Linked DNA regions of Homo sapiens: regions 1, 2, 3, 4, 5 and 7 are each linked to region 6. Evidence: promoter capture Hi-C in 16 types of primary human blood cells and fetal thymus (Javierre and others, 2016). All regions are on one chromosome and are shown on one strand. Each heading gives the region's core, a stretch centred on a gene start or on the middle of the fragment in contact. The rest is flanking DNA. Distances are from core to core; before and after follow the strand shown. Region 1 overlaps TMEM196 (transmembrane protein 196). Region 2 overlaps LOC107986774 (a long non-coding RNA gene). Region 3 overlaps TMEM196 (transmembrane protein 196). Region 4 overlaps POLR1F (RNA polymerase I subunit F). Region 5 has its middle 5.3 kb from the start of POLR1F. Region 6 holds the start of ABCB5 (ATP binding cassette subfamily B member 5). Region 7 overlaps LOC105375180 (a long non-coding RNA gene).

Region 1 (2,700 bases), core at 47-2,546, 880 kb before region 6:
TTTAGTATTATAAAACCATGAGAAGATAGAAACTCAGAACTTTATAAAACCTGAATACTTGCATAATTTTCAGTAGCCTTAAAAAGCTATTTCAGAGTGACCGTTTCTCACCACCCACTGTGTCCTAAGTGTAGATGATCATGTCCTCTTATGGACTCTTTCTGTTACTAATTTCATCTCACATTTTTGAAGGCAGTGCTCAAGAAATTCCAGTTTGGACCAATTCTGTACCTTTCAGTGCTTCAAGCTTCAGATCAAAGCTCAAGCATACTCTTCTCCTTAAGTTTCCCTGACTACCCCATTTTCATCCTGAAAGTCCCATTTATCCAGAACTCATTCGAAAAGAATTTGAAAGCAGTGTAGTTTTGTGTTCCTTGCATCTGTTTTGAAATCTGTAAACACTGCCATTATTCATTTACAGTAAAGCCCAAGAGGTGGTCAGGAGCATAAGCAGAGTTCTCCATCCAACCATTTGGTTAGAACATCTAGGTGGCAATAAATTTGCTATTTTGTATTATCTCACTTCAATTGGATGGAGCTAAGAAATGTGAATTCAAGGATTGGGAGAGGGAAGGGAGAGTAGGGGAGGAATCAATCAATATTTTTTCTACTTTCAGCAGATGAATGTAAATACTCTCCAACTGTTACTTCTGTTAGAGTATCCAAAATCACATGTCCTAGAGAAAAGCTGTAACCTGAGAAAAAGTGGACACATGTAACAGGAAGTATATGAAATCATGGGATTTATGAGGAGGATCTAAAAGATCTTGGTTGAAATTTAGCCACCACAGTTTATAGAAAAGAGAAAAAGAGGCCCCCAAAGTAGTAAATTGATATTTTATTTCATTGGCTATCTTTATTTACCACAAGTCATAATACTGGAAGAGATCTTAAAAGATGATTTAATTAATCCCTCGAAGTTTACACGTGGGGACATGGTCCAGAGAGGTCCAGAGAGTTAGTGACTTGCTCAAGGTAACACATCAAGGTCAGAAATCACACATCTAATTTAAGACTTTATTAAGTGTCTAAATTAATTTGTTTTTAATAATGGGCTGGGCATGGTGGCTCACACCTGTAACCCCAGCATGTTGGGAGGCTGAGGTGGGCGGATCACAAGGTCAGGAGTTTGAGACCAGCCTGGCCAATATGGTGAAACTCCGTCTCTACTAAAAATACAAAAATTAGCCGGGCGTGGTTGCAGTCACCTGTAGTCGCAGCTACTCTGGAGGGGGAGGCAGCAGAATCACTTGAACCCAGGAGGCGGAGCTTGCAGTGAGCCGAGATCGCATCACTGCACTCCAGCCTGGGTGACAGATCAAGACTCCATCTCAAAAAAAAAAAACAAAAAAAAAAAAAACGGAATGGAAGTGATTTTTAGAGTTTTTTTTTTTTGTGTGTGTTAGTTCAGTGTAGGTTATACTAGCAAATCCAACTAGAAGTGTTCAATGAATACCTACTCACCTACAACTGCAAGACCATTGTTAATTTATGATATAACTTCTGATGTAATCAAAATAATAAGAACATCAGTCAATTGTGTTACATTCTAAAATTAAATGCATCTTATTTTATAAAGGAATTTGTTATAATATTTCAAAATACACTTTCTTTTGTTCAACATAACTTTATCCAGGATGCAAAGCACTTACCCACATCATGGCAATTATTAAGCAAGTAAAAAACAAATTAGCTAAAAAAGTAAAGCTGATAGCTGTATGTATGTGCATATGTGTAAAGCCTGAACCATGAGAAAATATGATTTTATTTGTGAGAAGATGGGATGTTTAAATCCAGGGAGGATTATTTGCGTTGATCTTACTGTGAAATGATATAAATGTAGCAATCTAATGATAAGGCATCTAGTGCTACACAATAAAATAAAATTAGTTCATCCTCCAAGCGAACTTCATTTGATTCCAATTTAGATTATATTCAATAGAAAACTAAGATTGTGACGTGTTGGACGAAATGACATGATTATGAAGACAGTATTTTACACTTTGAGTGGATTTTCTTTATGTAAAGTCCTTGGAGGTTTCTGCTTTTGCTTAGGACACAGAAAGATGCAAAGATGTCATTTCCACTCTTACAGTAAGGAAATGATATTTTAGAGCCCATCAGAGAGCTGGTTGAGATTCCAAGACAATGAGATAACTTCAATTCAAAGAGGGAAATCTTCTCCAAGAAAGGTCTGACACTATGTCACCTGTTGCAGAGTAAGGGAGGAAGAGACACTGGTCATCACACATTTGTTTGTGTTGAGGGAGGTGTAAAGCCCTGCTCCTTCCCTAGACCTTCTTTTTTATGAAGCAAAAGGCTTAGGCTTCTGGCAGAAGGGTAGCAAAGCTTCTCATTTCCAGGGCCTATTCAAATATAGATTGCCACTCTAACTGGAGGAAAAGTAGAAGATCCTTTTTTAAAAAAAAAAAAAAATACAGAGGGAGAGGCAGGAATTCATCTTGGGCCTGGCATCCTATGCCTATACGAAGTAGAGGACATTGACCATTGGAGAAGAGGCAGGAGCCTCTCGCCCAAGATCAACCCCAGATATAAGGCTAAGTTTAATTGTCTCAGGAAGGAAGGTACAGAATACTGAGAAAGCCCCACACCTGAGATCAGGCGCACAAGGACTTCCTAAACTGAAACTGGTTGACAACAACAAAACACTTTCTCCTTCAGCCCCACCTTCACTCACCA
Region 2 (2,700 bases), core at 41-2,540, 800 kb before region 6:
TGGTTTGAGCAATGTTTATGGTAATATTTAGACCATAGTTCTTTTAAAAGGTTGAAGGTCCTTGTAAAACATGCAAAATGTAATATGTCTAATTACGAAAAGAAGTGCCATTTAGAAATAGCCATATTTTGCAGTAAAACATTTTAGATCTTTTTAAACCCTTGTCTGCATATTATTATGATCTAAAAATATTATGCTTTCCCCCCAGGAGATTTTGATATATCCTCCTGTAAAGGGGATAGGGTATGCTTTATTGAGCATTACTGCATTTAAAAAAGCAATAGTTTTTTTTTCAAAATTATAATTGTTTAATTTGAATGTACTTTATTGAACATAAAGAACAGGCTCTACTTACTTTTAAGATTCTTGTATTTCCCCAGACACAGTTTTTCCCCTGATTGAGAACACCATCATTTAGAGAATGAGAGAGAAAAACTGGAAAATATACTCATTTATATACATTCTATTTTTTCCAGGTAAATGTTGGTAATAAACACACATTAAGGACAGTGTTTCTGCCCTGCCATTGAAGGTATTACTCAGCTAGAATATTCTCTGCCTACATAGATCAAATTCATAAGGTAGTTATTTAATTTTCTTTTCATTTTAATGAAGAGTATCTTAGTGGTAGAACCTACCTCTTCCTACTGAATTAAAAGTATTGGCAGTAGAGCAAAGGCCATAGGCAGTTTTTATTTGATTGTTTTTGGTTTTTCTTATGTGAAAACATTTCAGCAATTTTGTCCCAGGTGTTTACTGTCCATGTTAAGCTCTGATTTCATTTTGGCATGAAGAACAACATGAATTTAATGACATCCAGGTGTAGAAATGGTTACTACTGTCGTGGGAGTTGGAGACCCAATTGGCAAGACTGAAAATTAGTTTCTGAACTTCACATTTTGCATTTCCTTCTTTCTGCTCAGCACAATAGTTCTGCTGCACTAAGGAAACTGCTAATATCCAATTTAGGAAGAGCTGGTGAATGGTATTCACATGAGCAAGATAAATTAAAATCTTCTTAATGAGATAGCAGCCAGACCTGAGAGGGAAGGTTTCCTGAAGACTCCAAATTTTGAACTTGGATGCTTGGGCTTGAGGCTTCAGCAAACTCTCACATCATGAATGTGGGGACCGTGGTATCATATACCTCATCACAATCTGGCTAACACTATTTCATTTCATTAATGAAGAGTTTTGGTTATCAATTCAGTTTTTGTCATTCCAGCTGTTTGCATTGACTGTTTTTAACTATAGGCAGGAGGAGTTCCCTCTTACTGATAGAAGAGTCAGACTTGTAGTTCTATTTAGGCCTTCAGCTGATTGCCATAAGGGCCACTCATATTAGGGAGGGAAACCTGATTTACAGTCTACCTATTTAAATGTTAATATCATCTTAAAATCTAAAATAATGTTTGACCAAATATCTGGATACCCCCTGGCCCAGTCAAGTGAGCACATAAAATTAATCATCACGCCTATCAAGTCACAAATGATATAGATGAACCTTAAATGTATATTCAAACTTAAAGAACCCAGTAAGAAAAGAATATATACTATATGATTCCGAGTTTGTGACATTTAGGAAAAAGCAAAACTATAGAGACAGACAGTAGAAAGAACAGTGATTGTCAGAAGTTCTGCAGGAGGAGCTCGGGGTTTAATATGTGAAACATGGGCGATTTGGGGGTGGTAAAAGTATTTGGAATTATACTATAGCAGTTGGTATATGAAACTGTGCATTTTTCAAAACTCATACAACTTTACAGCACCAAGATCATACCTTAATGTACATAATTCTATTTTACCTTATTATTTTAAAATTATTTATTTTAGAGATGGGCACTCACTCTGTCACCCAAGCTAAAGTGCAGTGGCACGATCATAGTTCACTGTAACCTTGATCACCTGGGCTTAAGCAATCTGCTCACCTCAGCCTCTTGAGTAGCTAAGGCATGTGCCACCACACCTGGCTAATTTTTAAATTCGTTTGTAGAGATAGGTCTCTCTATGTTGCCAAGGCTGATATATCTGTTTTTGTTGTTTCTAATTAAAATTATTTAGGAATTCATGGGATCCAGGATGGAATGCAGACTGTAATAAAAAATCTAATCACATCACAATTAAGAACACAATCTCCCTGAAGAGGTGAGCTAAAATATAAGTGAGGAGTGTGCAAGGATGCTGAATGTTTGGGAATGAGAGGATAAATGAGTGATGCTTGAAAACAGACCACATTGAAAATCCTGCCACGGCAGCAGCTGCAGCCACCAACAGCAGTGGTGTTAGTGACCTAAGTAAGCACCGACTTCGTAGAAACCAGAACATCAGCCATCTTGGAAAAGAGAAAAACAATGGAGTTACTTATTTAAGAAAAACAAAAAACAAACAAACAAACAAAAAACACAACTATTTCTTCCCAGGAGAGGCTAGAAGTAGCTTTTCTGCCTTCTGGCCGGAGCCAATTGGAATGACTGGTTTGGGAGAGGAGGAGGGGTTGTGTCAGCTGTGGTGCTTTGTTGTAAAAGGCAGCCTGACCTTTGCTACTGAGGAGAAAGATGGAGCCGAGTCTCAAGCCCACCTTCTCTGTATCTTTGCCACGTGGTACTGTATGCCTGCCAGCTAGAAGGAAGGTAAGGAATTTTTTTACAGTCTGAGAATGAGTGTGGGTGAATGAGGCGGTATCCACATTCTCAACTTCGT
Region 3 (2,700 bases), core at 19-2,518, 860 kb before region 6:
AAGCATAATGTTATATTCAGATTGTGTCGATGCTCCAAGAAACTAAAGAATAACATAAGATGTTGGTCATCATAAAAGCTTATGTCTAGTTTTGGCTCAGCCTACAATCATTTTGCAATTCAGTGTGCATGTAGCCAGATGCACAGCAGTTAATGAAAGAGATCTAGACTTACATTGTCAGCTTCAGACTCAAAACATGAATCTCAATCCTGTTTCCACTCACCACTTTTCCTGTGTCTATTACTCTTATTACTGTTCTCTCAAAACTCAAAGACACTATTGATTCCCCTCTCCTCCTACGTCATTTTCATCACATTAATTACAGTGTGCCATTACTTTTATATCCACAGTGAAATTTAGCTTTTATTCAAGGCCTCACCAGCCCTTAACAGGATTATTTAAGGGCTTTTGAGCGAGTCCCTCTGCCTTTAGTTTCTCTAATATCACTCACTCTAAGTTCATTCCTAGTATGATTTTTAGCACCTTATTAGTGCCTTATTTTCTCGTTCAATTTTTTTAATTTAATTTTATGTATTTCTTTCTTTCTTTCTTTCTTTTTTTGAGATGGAATCTCGCTCTGTCACCCAGGCTGGAGTGCAGTGGCCCGATCTTGGCTTAGTGCAACCTCCGCCTCCCAGATTCAAGCGATTCTCCTGCCTCAGCCTCCCGAGTAGCTGGGACTACAGGTGCGCACAACTACGCCTGGCTAATTTTTGTATTTTTAGTAGAGACAGGGTTTCACCATGTTGGTCAGGCTGGTCTCGAACTCCTGACCTCGTGATCCACCTGCCTCAGCCTCCCAAAGTGCTGGGATTACAAGCATGAGCCACCCGCCCGGCCTTTTTGTTCAATTTTTAAAATCAATGTCTCTCCAAATTTCTTGGCCTGGCATCAGGGCCCAAATGGATGGTTCCAAGCCAATTTGACAACTGGTCTACTGTGGATCTTCTACAGCCAAAGTGCACTTAAATTATTCTGTACACTCTCAGTTTATCCCTTTTTGCATATTCTACTTCTCTTCTTGGACAGTTTTATTCTTATTCTTACTATTCTCCAGGGTCCATCTGAAATTCTCTGCTCAGATAAAATCCCATCTTTTTCTCCTAATTCTCAGAGTACCTTTTTTATGTGGCTTATTACGTTTTGACTCATAAATATTTATATGCTTATTATCTCTGTTACTACCCCTTAAGCACTTTAAAGAGAAGTCTATTTTTTATTCTATGTTATAACCACCACCAGCACCCTACTCCCACTCAGAATAAATCAAAGAGGTACAATTTATCTAAACTCATTTTCTTACCCCTTCCCAAACCTGCCTTCATTTTTGTTTTTCTGATCTCAGCACATGTTCATTCTCTTTAACCCAGGCAGAAAGTCCGACTTAATTGCCAATCTTTTCAACCCATGTTTTTAAAAGCGTGACTCCCATGAAGTCTTGTCGAATCTGCATCTATAATTTTTCACGTAATTCCATTGCTCTTGGTGTTCCCTTCATTCTGACTCTTAATTTTAATATTAAAGGCATACACAATCCCCCTGCCTCTAATTCTTCACACTATTCCCTAGGTGATTATTCTTAAAATAAATTGATTCTAGTCTCCCTTATCCTCAAACATTTTTTGTACCTGTTCATTTCTAAAGAAGAAGGCTTCAAATCCTATAGTCTAATACTCAGGTTCCTCATAGTTGGACCAAGCCTACCTCTTCAAGCTCCCTTCTTTCTGTTCATTCTGTGCTTAGAAACCAACATTCTCTTGGCCATTCTCAAGCTCTCATAGGCCTTGCCTCCACGAGTTTGGAATATCTCTCCTCCTCTCTTTTCAAGCTCTCTCTACTTTGTTTTTCCAGGTTTGCCACCGAAGGCACATCTTTCATGAAGTCATCTATGACCCTCTTCACCTTCCTTGTGCATCCACAGGATTTGCATACACTTTATTGTGTATTGAACTATATTTATGTGGATTGAGTAGGAGGTAGTGTAGCTTAGTGATAAGGAATGACTACTCTGGAGTCATACTGACTGGGTTTGCATCATGGCTCTCCCATTTTCTGGCTGTGTGGCTTTGAGAAAGTTACTTATTTTTCCACAGTTTCCTCTTTACTGAGATGCATAACAGTGTACACTTCATAGAATAGCTGTAAATGTTAAATAAAATTGTAGGTATAAGTCACTTGGAAGAATTCAAGTGCTCGCTATCTATTATTGTTTGCAGGTATGTTTCTTCTAACAACTCTAAAGCCCTTGGATCCAGAGTCCAGTCTATTATTTATATTCAAATTCTCAGCCAAGTGCTTCATTCAAAGTTAGCCCAATAATTATTTGTCAAATTGATTCACTGGAAGCAGATGAAAAAAATCATCAGAATTTCCAAAAAGAGAATATGATTAAATGTTAATATTATAATTACAACTCTAATCAGTAGAATACAGATGGGAATCTTTTACAAGTAATCTGAAAGCTTGCAATACATCGTGAGCATTGTTTGAAGTGTGTTGTTGCCAGAGTGCAGGTTTTGATGAAATTCTTTTCTGTAGTCATGGGCTAAAAGCTTGTCAACTAACTACTCGTGGCCATGAACTATAAGAAAAAGGAAAAAGAAAAAAAAAAGTTCTGCAATTCAGAACAGAACCTCTAGGTGGCGACTCTATCTTCCTTTGTTATTTATTTACCTTAAGCAAGTCAATTAATTCTCTGGG
Region 4 (2,700 bases), core at 167-2,666, 920 kb before region 6:
ATCTTGTCTATAGGCAACCAAATTTGAGATATTAGACTGTAACAAGTTATGGTGGGATGCAGAATTAGCAGGAACTTCTCTCCTGTATTAGATACATTGTATTTAGCTCTTTCTTGTCCATAATCTCATAAATTTGTAGGTCATTTTAATTACTAATGCATTCTACTTTTAAATGCTAAATTATGGTCCTCTTTGACGGCTTTTAGCTTCTATTTCCAGCTGTTTACTAAGAATGGACGAGGTATTTCATGTGTCCTTGTTTTTCTGTGACTCAATAAGTGCCGGAGCATTTTCTAATTATAGCCAATGAATGTGGAACTAATTACCTACAACTATACAGACTGCAGCTTATTTGCTATTGAAATCCTGGTTGTAGACTTAGGTTTGTTGATTCTGCCTTTCCCCCCTATTTACTCCAATTTTATAACTTACTAAATTTTTGTCTTACTAAAAATTTTCAAACATATTCAGGACGAGTTATCAAATCAATGTGAGTAAGTAGGAACAAGTCTAGCATTCAGATAAAACAACTGGGCTTTAAGGTGATTCAGTGTACCAAATATTTATTTCAAAGAAGTAGAAGACAAAATGATGCCATGAAGTTAGTTCCTACTGCCAAAGCGGAGATTTGGATGAGAAAAGAGTTTAGACCAAACATCTGAAGATCTTTATGTTTAGTAAGGAGAGCCAGTGATATTCTGAGTTGAAGATGGGTTGAACTTTTCCATGAATTGTCCAGGAAAAATACCACAAAAAGTCACATAATGTGCAGAATTATCCATTATTTTTCAATTTTGTTCTCACTGTATGATATATAAAATCTATTTTAAAAGTGTTTTTCTACTTAAAAAATAACTATTCATTTCAAGTGCCTAAAGAATATTTTTTAAGAATATTTTTTAAAACTGAACTATGTACTGGCCCCCTGAAATACCTCCATTTCTAAAGGTAGGAATCAGAGCTTACCTTTGGAAGTCACAATGTACAATACAGCTGGAAATAAGCAATTAAACTAACAATGAAAGCTTTTAGAAATGTTAACAATACCCTTTTAAGAGGGAAAATACAAACCTAAATATCTATCCTTGGGAAATGAAATAAATTATACACTGAAATTCTGCAAACATTAAAAATAGGAAGACCTCTATATATTCATATGGGAAGACATTTACTATAAAATAGAGTAGACCCAAAAAGTGCAGGTAGTTTGATTCCATGTCTTAAAACATTTTAAAATTCACTACTTAAAAATCTCTAAAACTACACATGGAATTGACAATAGTGGTTATTTCTGGAAGCAGAATTGCCAAGTGGGTGTGTGTGGTGTGGGGAGGAATAGGGAGGGAGATCAATGACTGGTAGAGTGGGAAGATGTATATACTTTTACTATATGAATTTTTAAACAAATATATATTGATTTTGTAACAAAATATCTACTTTTTGAGAAAAAAAGGCAAAGATGACCCATGTGGTGAATGTATAAAACAAATTAAAAGAGATCAAATTTCTGTCATTTTTAAGTATTCTATCCCTGACACACTAAAGTGATAAAAGTGCTTAAAAACCACATTACATATAGGCCAAAAAAAAAAAAAAAGATGCATTTATTGAAACAAGTGAAAATAATAATATCACATCAGAGGCCAAGTGATACCATTTGAAACTGTGCTTTTTATTTATCAATTTAAAATTATCTGTTGATGCTTTCATTATACAAAGGATTCACTGTTAAATACTATAGATATAGTTAAGGCATAATTCCAGCCCTCAGGAAACTTATTTGGTCAAGACAAATTTGATTAAGAGACAAGCTTTACAAACAGGTAAACAGTTTGAAATAATGCACAGTGTTACAAGTAGAAAAATATTTATTAAAGAAAAATAAGAATTATGGTTATGAAGCATGCACATTTAGCCTTGTCTGGAAAAAGTTTATGCGAAGGTGGTGCCTGAGGTCTTTTACATTAGATAACTTCTTAGTCCTCTGTCAGGTTCTCCACCTGGAATGCCACAGCTAGTTTTTCTTCTCCAAGGGTCAAAATGCTGCTCTTCCAACAACAAGCTTAAACACTAAACGTAAAGCATTAAACATTCATTGTTATTTGTACTTGTCATTTATACTTGTGTATCTTATAGACAAAACGGTAAGCCCTTAAGAGCAGAAACTGCTTAAAAGTCATTTCTGTATCACTGGTGACTAGTGAGGTGTCTTGCACAGTGAAATGGGTGAATGATAGGAACTGGAGAGAGGGTAAGGGATCTAGTCTAGGCTATAGGGTTTGTATGAGCAAATTCCAAGATAGAAAAGATAGACTAGGTTAGTGCAGCATGTGCCAAATGTTTTGAAGAATACATAGTGGACACCATCATCAGTCTTTCTGTGTCAGAAAGACAAACAAAAAAAACAATGAACAAAGTTATGCTATTCTAGGAAAGACAAATGGCCAGATCTGACTTTTCAAAACTACTCACATTGTGAAAAAAGCAGGAACAAATCTAGTTTCAAGTTCAGCATGCCGTTCCCTGTTTAATTCATAAAACACAACTGGCAGAAGTATTACTTGAAGCAAAACAAAAGTAACGTGGGAACTTGCTTATTTGCTAAGCCACAATGTATTTTTCCAGGAATAGCATAAATTTGCCATCTTTCTTGTGTCTATGGAAAAGGGGTTTAGAATTGTTTCACTAAAAATTAAATTT
Region 5 (2,700 bases), core at 187-2,686, 900 kb before region 6:
ACACAAGACCTTCTGTCTAGACTCTAGAACTTCCACAATGTCAATCCAATGTATGGGGTACATCTGATCTCATGTACTTTGTTCTTTGCCTCAGAGAGGCTCAGAAGCTTCTTCTGTCATATATCAGGGGTATATACGTCCCTAGGAATGCCCACCCTGGATAAAGAGCAATACTAGTACTGACAGGAAGGATTTAATCACACTTATATGACTGTTTATATCAAATTGGTGGAATGAGTGATGAGTGTCAACATCACAATGACCAACATTATCACAGGTAAACTTTACTACAAACCTGCCAGATGCTATGCCAAGTGCCCTAGGTAAATCACTGACAGATAATCTTTATGAATTGATTACACTAATGACATATATTTACAAGCGAGAAGCCTGTATTCTAAAAGAAATGTCAGCCTCATGATGGTAGCTATCCTCTCTGTATTGCTAACAGTCATATGCCCAGGGCCTAATGCATACTCCTTGAGTGAATGAACCAATGACTTTCCCAAGAATACCCAGCGATTTATCAATAAAGGAATCTAACCCAGGCATGAGTTATCCCATAATTTATGCTTTGAATCACTAAAGATCCTCACTTTTTCTATGTCTATATCAAAAACTGATGAAGAAGGAAATTGTAAAAATTGATGGTTTATTTTATTTAGTCTCTGCCTAGAAAAGTGCTAAGGTAAGATATTTGACCAAATTGGTAAATATTAACATTTTAGTAGGATTGGAAAGGTGTCAAACAAGCACCAGTTTTAGCCGAAATATATATAATACAGGGTATATCAACCAAATGTTTGTTGATGCAGACCACTTGTGTTTCACAAATTTGCCAGCAGATGGCAAAAATGAGCTTAAATTTGTAAAGTTTTGCTTTAGCTTAAGGACTGTAGAAATGACAAAAGTGAAGGGAAACTTTATTGATGGCTTGTTTTTATCTACAATCCTTCTTCAACAGAGAACTTAGGATAAATTTTTGACTCTGAAGGCTCCTTCTACTTGCTTGTTAGATTGTTGACACTACATGATACACATGTGCCTAAAGAGAATGAGGAAATATATTAACAGAGCACATTATATTACATACACACACACACACACACACACACACACACACACACACACACACACACATATCGTTTAAACCTGAGCTTTGAAATATGGACCTAAATAAAGTCATGCCAATTTTTTAGCTCCTGATGTTACAATTATCTATCTAGGTAAAAGCCAAGAAGGCAACTGCCTAGCACTTTGGATGAAAGATGTCAGCTAGAAAGGATTAGCTTAAATAATAAAATAAATTTGAGGTGTGTGAGTGTGTACGAGTCTGCGTACATGTAGATGTGAGCACTGATGACTGCTTCTAGAGGTTGGGAAGAGGTAAACAAGGTATCTCAAGGGGGTGAGTCTACTTTAGGAGGACAAGATGCCATCTGTATTTATTGTCCTCTTACAAAAACTAGTGTTAGTATTTCTTCTAAGCCCTATTTCCTCTCTAATCAGACCTTTCTGCAATCAAATTTCAACATCCTCCTTTCAAGTTTTTCAAATCCAGTGAATTAAGCTAATACAATTGGCTGTGATGCTTGCAAGGGTGACTGTGGAAATTCTCATTTACTTCCACCTGTCTTTTGCTCAGTGCAGAATAGAAATAGAAAACAGTTTTCTTTTTTATATTTTGAAGATTACTTTAATGCTGTAGTTTAATAAAGCACTTGCTGACTGCAGAAACTGTGTAGATGTGAACTCCAAGATTCTTGACATTAAATAGTTCCGAAGAATGTGGTACGGAAAGTTTGAGGGTGGTAATTAAAAAAATGAAATTTAGATGCAGTGCCTTTTGATACACAATTTACTCTGAAGTGCCCAAACACAATTTATATTAATGTATCATATTCTAGACTTCCCGTTACAGCTACAGGGTGCTTAATACACCTATGCTTTGGAAATTATTATAGTTATGAATTTATCGTTGTCCAATGGCAAAGTGAACTTGCCCAGTTGTGAAAAATGCCCTGCAGGAATTTACAAATTAAGTCATTACTTTAAGGCCACAGTTGTTAGTAAAATATCTGAAAGTCCAAAATTTGCACTGAGTAGGATAGACTAATGAATAAAATGAAAGACTAATGAATAAAAGAAAGCTACTCGATTTCTTTGTGTCTCACTTTGCCTTGATATTCTTTGTTGTGATTCCTGTTTTCTTGTACCATATTGGCTTTAGGGTGATACTGACAGTATTAACTCCGCTTGAAAAAAACCTTTTCTCCTGAAATCTTTGGCACAGTCGAATAGACTAAACTGGATGTTTAAAAGTAGGACAAAAAAAACACCAGAGCCTACCAGAAATGAACATATCTTTAATATAAGGGCATAATTTTTTTCATGACCAAATTAGTTTTCTCTATAGCCTACAGGTCCAAGCACCTTATCAATAAAGCCTAGGGGAAAAGTGATCTTGTTTCCGTTTCTGTTACAGCTTTCTGCCTGTCTCCAATGACCTCCTAGATTTTCCATCCTCTTTATATTCAAGGTTTATGGAGCTCAAGTTTTCTTTCAGTTGGCTGAAATCCTTTCTTTGAATTCCTATTTTCAATATGTGTACATACTTGCTGGCCAGGTGACTAAAACAGTCGCTTCTCTCACTAGCTGCTGCTGCCTCAGTGACTAAAGCTGGATTTCAATTGGCTGATT
Region 6 (2,700 bases), core at 33-2,532:
ATGTGAAGTGATGGATGTGCTCATTGCAGTAATCATTTCACAATGTATATGTATATCACATCATCATGTTGTAAACCTTAAATATAGACAATAGTATTTGTCAATTATACATATTAAAGCTGAATAAATAAAATAAATTAATTAAAATTATATAAAACTCAAAATTCAGCTCCCTCACTAGGCACATTAAAAGCGCTCAATAGCCACATATGTGTAGCGGCTAGGATATTGGATGTGTGGAGAATATCTCAATTATTGCAGAAAGTTCTGTTGGATGGCTCTGCTCTAGAAGTAACACTTTTAGCTACATTACACCACTTCTGTGCATTTAGATGACATCATGAGATTTTTAAAGCAAAATTAATTATTCCTTCTGTGCATATGACAATTGCAAGTTTATCTCTAGGTTGGCAATTTTCCTAATTATTAGTGCCACATTTACATCTGTTTGCCAGATATTTTCACTTGGACACCAATATCAACCCAAATTTGCATATTTAAACTGAATGTTACCATTTCCCCAAAACCAATTCTGTCTCATAACTTCTCTATTACCATCTTTACTACTCTTTTGTTACAACTTTTAAAAGTTTGATCGCTGAACTTATATTTTTTTTATTTCTTCTTCCTTGTCCTCTTTACCTACCTACCGCCTTAAAAATACCTCTCAAATAGTCTTACTTACTGCTATCAAACTAGATTTTAATGAGTCTACTTAAATCTTGTGTTTCCCCAAGTCCTTCCAGTATATCCATGGCTGTAATGTCAAATAATCAGGTTAATTGTACCAAATACCAATGGCTTTGTCTCTTTCATTCCAGAAAATTATAAAAGTTGTCCTAAAAATTGGTTCAGTGCCTTTTACAATCGTATGTACCTTATCTCTCTCTCCATTTCTGCATGAACAGTCCATCCTATCCAAACCGTTCTCATTTCTCTACCATGAGATAATTCACCTTGCATTCCTAAAACTATGCCCTTGTTCCTCCTCCACATTTTTCTACTTACTGAAACCTTAGCCTTCCTCCAGAAACTAACCTCAGGGCCATCCTCATCTGTGGGCGAAACCATTTTAGATCACAATGTTCTTCCTCAGTCTTCTTAGATACTAGAATAGTCACTCTTTGTACTATTCATCACATAACGTCTGTCTTGCCAGGTATATTAGGTTCCCCTAGAGAAATAGAATCAATAGGCCGTGTGTGTGTGTGTGTGTGTGTGTGTGTGTGTGTGTGTATGTAGAGAGAGAAAGAGAAAACACGCTCATGTAATTGTGGTGACTGGCACTTCCAAAATCCACAAGCCAGACTAGAAGGCTGGAAATTCTGGCAAAAAATTGATACCTTGTATCTGAAAGCTTTATCCTATCCTCTTCAGAAGACTTCAGTCTTTTCTCTTAAGGACTTCAACTGACTGGATGGGGCCCACTCAAAACAGCATCTAAGGAATTAAAGTAAGTCAAAGCAAAAGTATTAGAGATTATGAAAACAATTGAAGCTTGTGAAGAATATAAAACACTTCTCCATCTTAGAAAGAATAGTTTGTGGTAAAGATGGAAACAAAAATGTGTGTGTATGAAACTTTTTCATAGTCAGAAATGATCATCCTACTATTATTTTGGTCATTTTAAAGCATCCATACAATTCATATCTTCTTTCTTTCTTTCCCTGTGACAGGGTCTCACTCTGTCACCCAGGCTGGAGTGCAGTGGCACGATGTTGGCTCACTGCAACCTCCGCCTCCAGGGTTCAAGAGATTTTCCTGGCTCAGCCTTCTGAGTAGCTGGGATTGCAGGTGCCCAGCACCATGCCCAGCTAATTTTTTTATTTTTAGTAGAGATGGGGTTTCACCTTGTTGGACAGGCTGGTCTCGAACTCCTGACCTCAGATGATCCAGCCGCCTTGGCCTCCCAAAGTGCTGGGATTACAGGCATGAGCCACTGCGCCCAGCCATATCTTCTTTCATCTAACCAAAGATCCCATGTTTTCCATCCAACCAGTATATCTTAGCTATTTGTCAGATTATTCTTACCAAGGATGCTTGAACGTTAAGTGCATCTCATGATTTCTTCTCACATGGGTATTTTGTCCTATGATTTCCATCTTGGTACATGAACCTAGAAATATTTTTTAAGGCAAAAGTCCTTATAAATAAAATATTCTGTCTATTTTTACATTTTCTTGTATGTTCCATAGTACTTGCCATGATAGCATCCACACAGCTGTCAATAAGTAAGAATTGGCTGACTGATAGATTTTGTGTAGAGCAATTAAGATGTTCAGAGTTCTTCTCTCATGTTATCTACTTAGTGCTGGATATTACTACCTGATTATCTCACAAATATCTCAAACTTGACAAGTTTCAAGTTAAATTTATCTTCCTTTTGAAACATTGGGTAACAGAGAGGAACATGGGGGCAGCCATCATAGTCAACCTGTAGCTTTCCATACAGTGAGGACCTGCCAACTGGCTCACAAATTGCTTTGACCTTGTGTCGCTTTGTCTCAGTGCACTTTTCTCTACTATCTAAATAGTATTCCTTCTGCCTGGGATAGTCTTTTTGATCTTTATATAGCAACCTCCTTTTATAATTCAGATTGCAGCTTAAACATTATCTTCTACAAGGGGCTTTCTCTGACCAGATGTATATAAATACCACATTACTCTTCATAAAATTACCCTGTTTTAATTATATACCAA
Region 7 (2,700 bases), core at 99-2,598, 950 kb before region 6:
AAACAATCTGAGGTCAAATAAAGAAAATAATAATATTTACATTAGCATCCAAAAGAATACCAAAGAAGAAATTTAAACAATGGGGTGCAAGATTTATATACTGAAAATGACAAAATATTCCTGAAAGAAATTAAAGACCTAAATAAATGGAAAGACACCCTGTGTTCATGGACTGAAAGACTTAATTCAGTTAAGATGGCAACAGATATCCACAAAGTGATACAGAGATTCAATGCAATCTCTATCAAAATTCCTATTGCCTTTTTTTTGCAGAAATGGAAAAGCCAGTTCCAAAAATCACATGAAATTTCAAGGGACCCCCAAATAGCCAAAATGATATATAAAGGGAAAAACAGACTTGAAGAATTCACACTTCCTGATTTAAAACTTACTACAAAGTTACAGTATTCAAAACAATGTGATACTGGCATAAGGATACAAATCTACATCAATGGACTAGAATTGAAAGTCCCAAAGAAAACCTGAACATCTATGGACAATTGATTTTTAACAAAGGTGCCAAGATCATTCAATGAGGAAAGAATAGTTCCTTGCCATAACGTGATGAGACAACAGGGCAACCACATGTTATAGAATTAAGTTAGACTCCTACCTTACTTCATATGCAAACTCAAAATGGAAAAACAACCAAAATGCAAGAGTCAAAACTCTAAAACTATTAGAAGAAAACATTGGGAGTAATAATTGATGACTTCTAATTGGCAATGAATTCATAGATTTAACACCAAGAGCACAAGTAACAACAACAACAAAAGATAAGTTGGATTTCATAAAAATAAAAAATTGTGTGCATCAAAGGACAGTTCCAAGAAAGTGAAAAGACAACCTCCGGAATTGGAGAAAATATTTGCAAATCATATCTGATTAGGGTTTAATATCCAGTATATGCAAAGAATTCCTAACACTCAGCAACAAAAAGACAATCTAATTAAAAACAGAACAAAGGACTTGAACAGACATTTCTTCAAGGAAGAATACAAATGACCAATAGCACATGAAACGACGTTCAACATAATTAGTCATTAAGAAAACACAAAACCATAATGAGATACCACTTCACAACTATTAGGAATTATATAATTGTTTAACAGAAGATAAGTATTGACAAAGATACAGAGATATTGGGATCCTCATACATTCCTGGTAGACATGTAAAATGAAGCAACCATTGTACAAAACGATTTGGCTGCTCCTCAAAAATCTAAATATAACATTACTATATGATCTAGCAATTCCACTTCTAGGATACAGGTTTTTGTTTGCCGATGTTCATTGCCACATTATTTACAATAGACAAAAGGTGGAAGCAAGCCAAATGTCCATTAGCAGACGAATGTAAACAAAATGTGGTAATATACATACAATAGAATATTATTCAGCCTTAAAGGAATGAAATTCTGGCACATGCTATAACATGCATGAACCTTGAAAACATTATGCTAAATGAAAGAAGCCAGATTTGAAAGGTTATATATTATGTCTTTTTAATGGAATATACAGAAGAGGCAAATTCGTGCAGACAGAAAGCAGATTTCTGGTTGCTAGGGGACAGAGAAAGCAGAGAATATTGAGTGATCATGTAATGGCTACAAGGTGTTTTTTGAGGTGGTAATGTTTTGAAAATGAAAGAGGAAGTAGTTGCAAAACATTTCAAATACACTAAATGCCACTGCATTGTACAACTTAAAATGGTTTACTGTATGTTATTTGAACTGCACATCAGTGAAAAAGTACAATTTGGTCTAAACATAAACTGTTTGGTGTCTTACTATTCAGCAATTATAAAAAGAAAAATTAAACATCTCTTTGATTTTGAAATAATGGCTTTAAATGTCATCCTTACCTTTCCAAATTAGAATTTGTCTTTTTACTGTCTTAATCTTAGCTTTGTATACATGCTGGGGGTGGGCTGAGGAGCTAGGAAAAATCCTCTTTTTCTTTTTTACTTCTTCATCCAATGTTCAAAAGTTGAAATTTTTTTTAAAAAATAGATATGTCTGAATGAGAATATGAGACATTTTGGTCTAAGTCATGTGCAGCACTTCAAACATTTCATTTGTCTTCTCATAGAGGTCTGAGAGGTGAGCCACTGGATACTATTTAAGCATGCATTCTTCACATTCATAAATAACTGTCATTTGTGATTCTGTTATATCTATGTTGCTACCTATCATAGCCCCTGCCATTAGCCTGTAGAGTTACAAACAAGAGTGGTAAGGCAGAGAGATGTCAGAGAGATGTAATCTCATGACCGTTAAATCCATAAAAATTCCTGCAAGTAGCCTTAGCTTCTGGGGAGATCATCTGCTTGCTCTGAATTAAAAGCAGCATCGAGTAATTGAAGGATTTCCTTTGACTGTACCTCAGCTAGAAATTATTTAGTGTCAATAAAAAATTTTGTTCTGGTAAGTTTTCAGCATGATTCTAAAGCAATTCAGTAGCACAGCCGTCATTTCAAAACAATGTAATGGAATTCAATGAATGCTCTTCAGCACAGACTACATTATCACAATTAATGCATATATACAAAATAGAAGTAAATTATCTAAACAGTAGGCTATGACACTCCTGCCTTTGAGGAAAAAGATATATGAAAGTTAAATATCATTTCAAGACTTATGTCATAAAGTCCCTACAGTGGAATAAATTTGCTTTCTTCTGTTGAGGGCCATTGAATGC

What was found. Contacts are between HindIII fragments. The CHiCAGO score rates a contact against its expected background, and 5 or more counts as called.
Region 1: a fragment that was not itself captured here is called in contact with the fragment with the promoter of ABCB5 in region 6 in 15 of 17 cell types (M2 macrophages, M1 macrophages, M0 macrophages and 12 more); the score reaches 17.3 in M2 macrophages.
Region 2: a contact is called between a fragment that was not itself captured here and the fragment with the promoter of ABCB5 in region 6, in 1 of 17 cell types (M1 macrophages). The highest score is 5.4, in M1 macrophages.
Region 3: a contact is called between a fragment that was not itself captured here and the fragment with the promoter of ABCB5 in region 6, in 15 of 17 cell types (M2 macrophages, total B cells, M1 macrophages and 12 more). The highest score is 35.3, in M2 macrophages.
Region 4: a fragment that was not itself captured here is called in contact with the fragment with the promoter of ABCB5 in region 6 in 5 of 17 cell types (naive CD4 T cells, total B cells, M2 macrophages and 2 more); the score reaches 8.5 in naive CD4 T cells.
Region 5: a contact is called between a fragment that was not itself captured here and the fragment with the promoter of ABCB5 in region 6, in 16 of 17 cell types (total B cells, naive CD4 T cells, fetal thymus and 13 more). The highest score is 35.2, in total B cells.
Region 7: a contact is called between a fragment that was not itself captured here and the fragment with the promoter of ABCB5 in region 6, in 1 of 17 cell types (total B cells). The highest score is 8.1, in total B cells.

What each region holds. Positions count from the first base shown.
Region 1 is chr7:19,731,240-19,733,939 of GRCh38, forward strand. The region is part of intron 1 of TMEM196 (transmembrane protein 196); the gene reads right to left. The region is part of intron 1 of LOC107986774 (a long non-coding RNA gene); the gene reads left to right. Among named protein-coding and RNA genes, the nearest start is that of POLR1F, 24 kb to the left of the region's middle. The HindIII fragment of the contact is 2,102 bases long and covers 246-2,347 here.
Region 2 is chr7:19,810,769-19,813,468 of GRCh38, forward strand. It overlaps LOC107986774 (a long non-coding RNA gene), which reads left to right. Exons shown (of 5, transcript XR_001745112.2): 2 at 477-581; 3 at 2,062-2,630. Among named protein-coding and RNA genes, the nearest start is that of TMEM196, 39 kb to the left of the region's middle. The HindIII fragment of the contact is 5,704 bases long and covers 1-2,700 here.
Region 3 is chr7:19,752,072-19,754,771 of GRCh38, forward strand. The region is part of intron 1 of TMEM196 (transmembrane protein 196); the gene reads right to left. The region is part of intron 1 of LOC107986774 (a long non-coding RNA gene); the gene reads left to right. Among named protein-coding and RNA genes, the nearest start is that of TMEM196, 20 kb to the right of the region's middle. The HindIII fragment of the contact is 2,384 bases long and covers 77-2,460 here.
Region 4 is chr7:19,693,810-19,696,509 of GRCh38, forward strand. POLR1F (RNA polymerase I subunit F) reads right to left here. Exons shown (of 4, transcript NM_001002926.2): 4 at 1,652-2,700. Among named protein-coding and RNA genes, the nearest start is that of MIR3146, 10 kb to the right of the region's middle. The HindIII fragment of the contact is 786 bases long and covers 1,024-1,809 here.
Region 5 is chr7:19,713,023-19,715,722 of GRCh38, forward strand. No RefSeq gene overlaps it. Among named protein-coding and RNA genes, the nearest start is that of POLR1F, 5.3 kb to the left of the region's middle. The HindIII fragment of the contact is 2,662 bases long and covers 106-2,700 here.
Region 6 is chr7:20,614,385-20,617,084 of GRCh38, forward strand. ABCB5 (ATP binding cassette subfamily B member 5) reads left to right here and starts at 1,283. Exons shown (of 28, transcript NM_001163941.2): 1 at 1,283-1,453. The HindIII fragment of the contact is 15,833 bases long and covers 1-1,355 here.
Region 7 is chr7:19,662,723-19,665,422 of GRCh38, forward strand. All of the region lies in intron 4 of LOC105375180 (a long non-coding RNA gene), which reads left to right. Among named protein-coding and RNA genes, the nearest start is that of MIR3146, 41 kb to the right of the region's middle. The HindIII fragment of the contact is 3,247 bases long and covers 1-2,700 here.